3 separate regions of the Homo sapiens genome follow, and regions 2 and 3 are each linked to region 1. Evidence: promoter capture Hi-C in human tissues and cell types (Jung and others, 2019). All regions are on one chromosome and are shown on one strand. Each heading gives the region's core, a stretch centred on a gene start or on the middle of the fragment in contact. The rest is flanking DNA. Distances are from core to core; before and after follow the strand shown. Region 1 holds the start of TBC1D16 (TBC1 domain family member 16). Region 2 overlaps RNF213 (ring finger protein 213). Region 3 holds the start of CBX8 (chromobox 8).

Region 1 (2,666 bases), core at 110-2,609:
GACTATCGCGGGCCGCCTAACCGCAGGGACCCCTCCCATCGCGGGTCACCCCCAAGCCTGCGAGAGGGGATCTGTCCTTGCAGGAGGGAGGCGCGGGGCCGGGCTGGTCTCCGGCCACAGCGAGTGGCCCCGGAGCAAGGTCAGGGGCGGTATCCAACAGCCCCGCGCCCTGCAGAGCCCTCTACTCTTAGGAGGACTGCGCGCAGGGACCGCCACGCAGAGTGGTTGCCATGGTGACTGCAGAGTGAGCGGTCCCGGGTTTTAGAGGGAGTCGCGCGCTTGGAGTAGGGGAAAGAGGGAGGCCGAGAGAGGACAAAGGGACAGGAGGGGAGAAGTGAGAAGGGTTGGCGGGGGGGTGAGGGGCTGAACGCAGTGGACGGGAAAGGCCAGCAAAATGGCGAGAGAAGGGACACAGGCGAGAGGAAGGGGGAGTGGAGGCGAAGGGGCGAGGCAGGAGCCGACGCGGGGGCCACCTGGAGCGGTGAACGGAGAGCGCGGCCTGGCGACTCCAAGACCCGCTGCCCCTCGGCCCGGCTTACCGGCCCGCCGCGCCGCCCGGTTCCGCCATTTCCCGTTGCTAGGCGACGCTGTCAACATCCGGCCGGGCCGGGACCACGCGCGCTGCGAGGGCGGGGGCCGCCGGGGGCGGCGCGGCCTTTGTGCCATCTCCACGCACGCAGAGGCGCGCGCCGTCTCGACGTGTCGTCCCTTAGACTGTAATGATTAGAGCACGACCATGCTTTTCCTTTATCGCTCTCTGCGCCCGGGTCCCGCCTCGGCTGCGCTCAATTTCTGTAAAGCGACAGCGGCGTCAGCGTGTGCCCAGCGGGCGGCTCGAGGTCCCGAAGGGACCTGCCGGGCACCTGGGGACCCCGGACTGCTAAGCGCCCGGGAATGGCAGGCGGGCTGGGGGCACCGGGGGCCGGGGACCCCGCGCATGGCGAGCGCTTTTCCATCTCCTGCCCTAGGGGGCTCCGGTGCCCTTCTCCAGGGGTCCTACGGAGACTCCTTGCATGGACGCCCGGGGGGTCTTCCGGAGCGTATCTTCCCTTCCTAGTCCGAAATAGGAGAAATCTCCCTGCAGAGGGCGGCAGCGGAGGGCCAGCGCGCACGCGGAGCGTCCGAGGAGCCCTGCCTTTCCTTTGGGGACGCCAGGCTCGGGACGGGGCACAGTCCCCGAGGCCGGGACGCGGCGAGGCCTGAGGGAGGGCCAGCAGGGAACTAGAGGCTTGGGCCCAGGGCTGGGCCAGAAGGTGGGCGGGGAGACCGGCGGGGGCAGGCAGGGGCCGGGCCGGGGGCGGGCCCGGGGGCGGGCCGGGGGCCGGGCCTCCCCGCGCGTCCCCGCCCCGCCGCGCCTCACTGGCGGCGGCAGCGGCGGAGGCGACGGTGGCGGCTCTCGGAGCCGGCGCGAATCCGGCCCCCGCAGCGGGACCCGGGTGGGTATCGGGGCCCGGACGGGGCCGCGGGGGCGGGGTCCGAGGGGTCCACCGCGCAGCGAGCAGCGCCCCCTCGGCGGAGCTGGGGCGGGGGCGCGCGGGGCGCGTGGGGCGCGTGGGCCTGCAGCCGCGGGACCGGGGAGGGGCCGGGGTCCGGCCGCCGTCCTCGGGGTGCGGGGCGCCAGCAGGAGCGGGAGCGTTGTGGGAGGACCTGGATCACGGAGGGGCACCTGGGGACTTTTCCCCGCGGCGAGTGAGGGCGCCCGGGCCCGGAATGGGCCTAATTCGGGGAGACTGGTCCCCGCCTGTCTGGAGCGGTGGACCGGGGAACTTGCGGTCTTTGTCTGGCTGAATCGGCGGAGCAGACGGATGAGAACTTGTGGGGTGCCGGCGCGCGCCCACACAGCCTCCAAAGTGTGCGTCCCCCCAGCAGCGCGCGCTCAGCTTTCCCGGCCTGTCGGGCTTGGTGGTCTGGGCTGTTTAAGATCCGCGTGTCGGGATACTCACTTCCGTTCCGCCTGGGCTCCCTTGTTCTTTCCTTTGGGAAAAAAAAAAAAAGAAAAAGAAAGAAAGAACGAAAGGAAGGAAAGAAAAAAAGGAAAGGCAACTGAAGATTGCTAAACATAACCTAGGGGATCCTGCCGGAAGCCGCTGAATCCTGAAATCCTGTGATTCCCACACTCGGAAGCTGGTGTCGTATATTGGCCACAAAGTAGTTCAGATTTGATTCAGAAATAGGAAATGAATAGAAAAGACATAACAAAAGTTAGTCTCGCCTTATGGTAAAGTTTGTTTTACTGTCTGGGTCAAGTTCAAATGAGAAGCTGGGCTGATTGGCCAGCCTCTGCGACTTGATCCTGAAGATCTGCTTTCTTTTCTACCAGAAGGCTCCTAATTCTTTTATCTGGAATAAAAAGGGAACTCCGTCTTAAAGATGCTCACGTGAGGCGGCATATTGCCAGAGGGTGGGCGCAAAGACTGGGGGCTGGAGATTCCATTCCAAATCTGTTACTGATTGATCAGAACACTTTTTCAAATCCATGCCTCAGTTTTAGAAAATCCTCATTAGAAACGCTAACAGTAAAATTGGTGAATACTAAACACTTTTAAGAACCATGAAAGCTTTTGTAAATAAAGAATAAAGTGAGGAGTAACTTTTGGTATTAACTACAAAGTTCATTAATGGATGTTGTTTGCATCCTGAGCGTGGTTATTGTGCGCATATTTTTT
Region 2 (2,666 bases), core at 51-2,550, 240 kb before region 1:
GGGTTCTGCTCCAGGTGGGTAGGAGGGAACCAGGGACCCCAGTTTCAGCACAACAAGGGGTGAATCAGACAGAAAGACTGTGCCGTCCTAGCATCCAGCCTCTTCCTCCCAATGTCCACGAGTGGATTCACCTGACTCTGTACTAGGATGTCAGCGCACCTCGGGCACCTCTAAAACAGAGCCTGTTACGCTTTCCTCCCCTACTGTAGACATTCCTCCTGTCTTCCCCAGGGTGGGCATTCTCCCAGTGGCGGCCCAGGGGTCTCAAACTGCTTCCCTTGTCCTGGCACTAAGGCATCTGCCCGCCCAGCTGCTCTGCCTCCAGATTCTCACCCATGCAGAGCTGCCATGCAGACAGCATGGAGCACCCACTCTGCCAGCCCCACACTCACTCTAGCCTTCATTGTGGTGTGGACGCACTTTGTCCATCCCCACCAAAACTCATGTTGATCCCCAGTATGCCAGTGCTGGGAGGCAGGGCTGCGGGGAGGTCTGTGGGTCGTGAGGGCAAATCCCTCACGAATGGCTTGGTGCCGTTTGCGGTCATGGGTTTACTCTTGAGAGGCTTGTTTACTCCCCTCGGGAATGGATTAGCACCCGCCAGGTGGGTTGTTATGAAGTCAAGATGTCCCATCAGGCTTAGTCTTTCACAGCTGTCAGCATCCCCGTCGGCCTACTCTGCCATGTGGCACAAAAGCCCTCACCAGACATCAGGGCCAGGCCCTGAACTTCTCAGTCTGCAGAACTGTGAGCTAAATAAACCTCTTTTTTCTTTTTCTTTTTTTATTTTATTTTATTATTTTTTTTGAGACAGAGTCTTGCTCTGTCGCCCAGGCTGGAGTGCAGAGGCACAATCTTGGCTCACTGCAACCTCTGCCTCCCAGGTTCAAGCAATTCTCCTGCCTCGGCCTCCCAAGTAGCTGGGATTACAGGTGCATGCCACCACACCCGGCTAATTTTTGTGTTTTTAGTAGAGACAGGGGTTTCAGCATCTTGGCCAGGATGGTCTTGAACTCCTGACCTCATGATCCACCCGTCTTGCCCTCTCAAAGTGCTGGGATTACAGGTGTGAGCCACCCCACCCGGCCTCTTTTCTTTTTTCTTCTTTTTTGAGACGGAGTCTCGCTCTGTCACCCAGGCTGGAGTGCAGTGGTGCAATCTCGGCTCACTGCAACCTCCACCTCCTGGGTTCAAGTGATTCTCCTGCCTCAGCCTCTGGAGTAGCTGGGATTACAGGCATGCGCCACCACACCCAGCTAATTTTTTTTGTATTTTTAGTAGAGACGGGGTTTCACCATGTTGGTCAGGCTGGTCTTGAACTCCTGACCTCGTGATCCGCCCACCTCGGCCTCCCAAAGTGCTGGGATTACAGGCTTGAGCCACCACACCCGGCCTTTTCTTTTTCAATTACCCAGGCTCGGGTACTCTTATGGCAACAGAAAATGGACGAAAACACCCTTCAAGGAGTCCCTGTTTTCAATCCTGGGTCTGGACGACCCCACCTCTCCCTGACACACACTCCAGATGGTGCCAGGCCAAGCCTGCTTTTCTGTACAGAACCTTCCCTCTGCCTGATCCCCACAGACCCTTCTCCAAGGCCCCAAGCCAGTCCCAGCTGCGCCCCTGTCTGGACACTTCATCCCCACGCCCGTTTCCAGCACCTGGTTTCGTCACTGCCCTCTCCTCCTCTGAGATCTGGAGGGCAGGGACCACGCAGACCTTTTTCCCTTTGAGTACTCAGTGTTGGCGTAGCCAAGAGCTCAAGAATTCGTGAAGTTCCTTAGCAGGACTCAAAATTGATAACAAATCCTCTAAACGTCTACATACATAAGACACACATGAAACATCACAGCCAGAAAGTAAGAGCTGGAGAAAGATCTGCAACAGGCGACCCAAGGCCCCATCCTTCGAGAGCTGCTGTTTCACCTACAACCAGGGATTCTGAGCCTGCCCCTCCCACCAACCTACCCTCCCACCAACCTACCCTCCCACCAGGGGCGGGCCCTGACTAGCCTAATCCAATCAGGGCCGATATTTACCCTGGCACTAGTGATTGACTAAGGGAAGGGCCAACCAGCAAGAAGTATGGAAGCATCCATACTTCTGGACCCTTACTGGGGTTTCTGCCACTCAGTGCATCCTGGAAAGACCATGAGGTGGTGCTGGGAAACCACTGTCTGTTCTCCTCCACCTGCAGACAAAGCTGGCAGTGGAGAAGGGCAGAGCTGTCAGGATCAGAGAAATGGAGCAAAGCCCTAGTACACTTGAACCCCTCAAGCCTGGACTTGGGCAACGGTGACCCAGCACGTTTCTCTTGCTGAGCAAGCCTAGGAGAGCTGGGTTTCAGGCTGTTCCCAGTATAAACAGTCCCAACAATCATAAGGACCAACCAAAGCAAAACGAGCTTCCCTAAAGACAGACAGGCCGCTCAAGGAAATACACATACATGTGGTCTCTTAACTTCCAAAGAGATGCCTGCCATGCCTACTGATGAAGGAAATCAGAACGGAGGCCCTGCAGTGCCATTTCCACCCAACGACCGGCACAGATTGACAAGATCCATCATTCTGAACGCTGGAGAGAATCTGAATAGAAATCTAGAAGGCAGGGAGCACAGAGACGCGGCCAGTGAGTGGCCAGAGAAGCTTTGTGCAGGGGATTTGAAG
Region 3 (2,666 bases), core at 66-2,565, 240 kb after region 1:
GAGGGGACCGCGCGAGTCCTGGGCGGTGGGGGTGGGGCGGCGGGCCGGGGTCTGCCGAGGGGCGGAGCCGGGCTGACATCGCCGCGGGGATCCCAGCGAGAGCTGTGGGGGACGCCGAACGCCGGAGGGACAACTTGGTGGCGGGGGAGGGGGGCCCCGGCGAGGACAGAGGGCGGCCTGCCCCCCTCGCCAGCCCCGCAGACTGACAGCGGCCGGGCCCGCCTTCCCCTGGCGTCACTTCCGGCGGCGCCCCCTCCCACTCGCGCGCTCGGTCTCTGGAGTCGCCTCGGACTCCGCCCCCTGGCGATTGGAACGCTGGTCACGTAGCAACGCGGGGGAGAAAGGCAGAGGGGCGTGGCTCGGAGCTCGTCCAATCAGCGTGCGGGGGCGCAGGCCTCCGGCCGCTCGGCTTTAGCAACGTCGTTAGCAACACGTGGGGCGGGAGGAAGCACTGGGCGGAGGGGAGGGGGCCGAGCGGAGGAGCGCGGGAGGGGGGCCGCGGGAGGGAGCGAGAGCGCCGGGAGGGGGAGGAGAACTGACGTCAGCGGGAGAGTATTATGGTCTGTCGTGCGCTGGCTGCTGCTTTTCTGCTCCTGGAAGCGGCCAAGGGGGGAAGCGGCGAGTCAACATGGAGCTTTCAGCGGTGGGGGAGCGGGTGTTCGCGGCCGAAGCCCTCCTGAAGCGGCGCATACGGAAAGTAGGTGCCCCCGGGCCTAGGGCCTCCGTGCGGCCGGGCCCTCCCCTCCCGGCCCGGGTTCCCTCCCCCTGCTGCAGCCCAGCTTCCCTTCCCCCAGGTCCCAGCAGCGGCCGCGGCCGTGGCGGCGGCGGCGGCGGCAGCTCTGAGCCCAGGCGCTTTCCTTAGACTTGCAGCGATGCACGGATTGCATGGGTGGGGGGCGGGGTGGGGAATGAATGCCGGTGCATGCACTTTGTGCAGCATTAGGTGCAGGGGTGATGCAGCGGGCGCGTGCCTTTTGCGGCGGGGTTTCGAGCATTCATCTGGTGCATGCATTTTCGCATGCATTTCTTGTATCCTCGTCATGCGTTTCTCCCCATGCACACACATTATCGCCTTTGCACCCGCAGGGACGCATGGAATACCTCGTGAAATGGAAGGGATGGTCGCAGAAGTAAGTAGGTTATATGCAATTCTCAACCCCAGACTGTTATTCGGGAGGTTTCTTTCTTCCTCTTTTTGCCTTTACATTGAAATACAATACAATGCAATGAGAAAAGTTACACACACACACACCCCCTCTGCTCTCACCCTGCTCCTGGGACTGATGCCCACTTCTTCCTGATTCCCTTTAGGTACAGCACATGGGAACCGGAGGAAAACATCCTGGATGCTCGCTTGCTCGCAGCCTTTGAGGAAAGGTACAGACCCTTCCAAGTCCCAGCCGCTCACTTAGAAACAAGTAGAGTGGCTTCTTTCCAGCCTGGACTAGAGTCCCACTTGCTTTCTTTACTCACGCACCCTTTCTCCTTTTCTTCTTTCTCCAGGGAAAGAGAGATGGAGCTCTATGGCCCCAAAAAGCGTGGACCCAAGCCCAAAACCTTCCTCCTCAAAGTAGGTTGGCAGTGTCCAATGGTGGAGGACCATGTTATGGAGTGATTTGTGGGAAGGGGGCTCTGAGGGCTGTGAGCCAATGGGGTGTCCACACATGTTGCCTATTTGTAATGTAGGAGGGAGTTCCCTGACAAGATGTCACCAAGTCAGTAGCAGCACCAACTGTGTCTGGGGGGACGGGCTTGGCCACACTAGAATTCCTTTACGCTCCCCCTCCCAAATGGACACAATAATCAAATGCAAAAAGTGTACTTTTTGCAAATGACTACTTCCAGCCAAATCTTCTACCTCTTCTCTCATCCTTCTACCTCTCAGCTCCAACAGCCATCCCACCCATTCATCCAGCCATCCACCCACCCACCCACCCACCCATCCATGCATCCATGTAGAAATTCCCAGGCATCATAGGGTAAAGATAGGAGGTCAGGGATAGAGGAGGAGTCCTGTGGGGGTGGACAGGGCCCTGCCCCACTCTTGAGACCATCTTCTCTCCTGCAGGCGCAGGCCAAGGCAAAGGCCAAAACTTACGAGTTTCGAAGTGACTCAGCCAGGGGCATCCGGATCCCCTACCCTGGCCGCTCGCCCCAGGACCTGGCCTCCACTTCCCGGGCCCGGGAGGGCCTTCGAAACATGGGTTTGTCCCCGCCAGCGAGCAGCACCAGCACCAGCAGCACCTGCCGCGCAGAGGCCCCTCGGGACCGGGACCGAGACCGGGATAGGGACCGGGAGCGGGATCGAGAAAGGGAGAGGGAGCGAGAGAGGGAGCGGGAACGTGAGAGGGAACGAGAGCGGGGTACCAGCAGAGTGGATGACAAGCCCAGCTCACCGGGGGACAGCTCGAAGAAGCGAGGCCCCAAGCCCCGGAAGGAGCTCCCGGACCCCTCACAGAGGCCCTTAGGCGAACCCAGCGCCGGCCTCGGAGAGTACCTCAAGGGCAGGAAGCTGGACGACACCCCTTCCGGGGCAGGAAAGTTTCCAGCCGGCCACAGTGTGATCCAGCTGGCCCGAAGACAGGACTCGGACCTGGTGCAGTGTGGTGTGACCAGCCCTAGCTCAGCTGAGGCCACGGGCAAACTGGCTGTGGACACCTTCCCGG

What was found. The method cuts DNA at HindIII sites, captures the fragments that hold promoters and counts their contacts. A contact is called where the count stands out against the background at its distance.
Region 2: a fragment that was not itself captured here is called in contact with the fragment with the promoter of TBC1D16 in region 1 in 1 of the 25 tissues and cell types used here (pancreas).
Region 3: a fragment that was not itself captured here is called in contact with the fragment with the promoter of TBC1D16 in region 1 in 2 of the 25 tissues and cell types used here (hippocampus and thymus).

What each region holds. Positions count from the first base shown.
Region 1 is chr17:80,034,565-80,037,230 of GRCh38, reverse strand. It overlaps TBC1D16 (TBC1 domain family member 16), which reads left to right and starts at 1,359. Exons shown (of 12, transcript NM_019020.4): 1 at 1,359-1,436. CCDC40 (coiled-coil domain 40 molecular ruler complex subunit) reads right to left here and starts at 589. Exons shown (of 20, transcript NM_017950.4): 1 at 540-589. The coding sequence starts at 568. RefSeq lists enhancers at 1-81, 981-1,100 and a silencer at 1,291-1,360. The HindIII fragment of the contact is 13,824 bases long and covers 1-2,666 here.
Region 2 is chr17:80,270,425-80,273,090 of GRCh38, reverse strand. The region is part of intron 2 of RNF213 (ring finger protein 213); the gene reads right to left. Among named protein-coding and RNA genes, the nearest start is that of RNF213, 11 kb to the right of the region's middle. RefSeq lists a silencer at 1,943-1,992. The HindIII fragment of the contact is 4,608 bases long and covers 1-2,666 here.
Region 3 is chr17:79,794,961-79,797,626 of GRCh38, reverse strand. CBX8 (chromobox 8) reads left to right here and starts at 550. Exons shown (of 5, transcript NM_020649.3): 1 at 550-697; 2 at 1,087-1,130; 3 at 1,312-1,377; 4 at 1,504-1,570; 5 at 2,069-2,666. The coding sequence starts at 629. RefSeq lists silencers at 1-71, 102-311, 472-851 and enhancers at 223-517, 1,765-2,505. The HindIII fragment of the contact is 6,409 bases long and covers 1-2,666 here.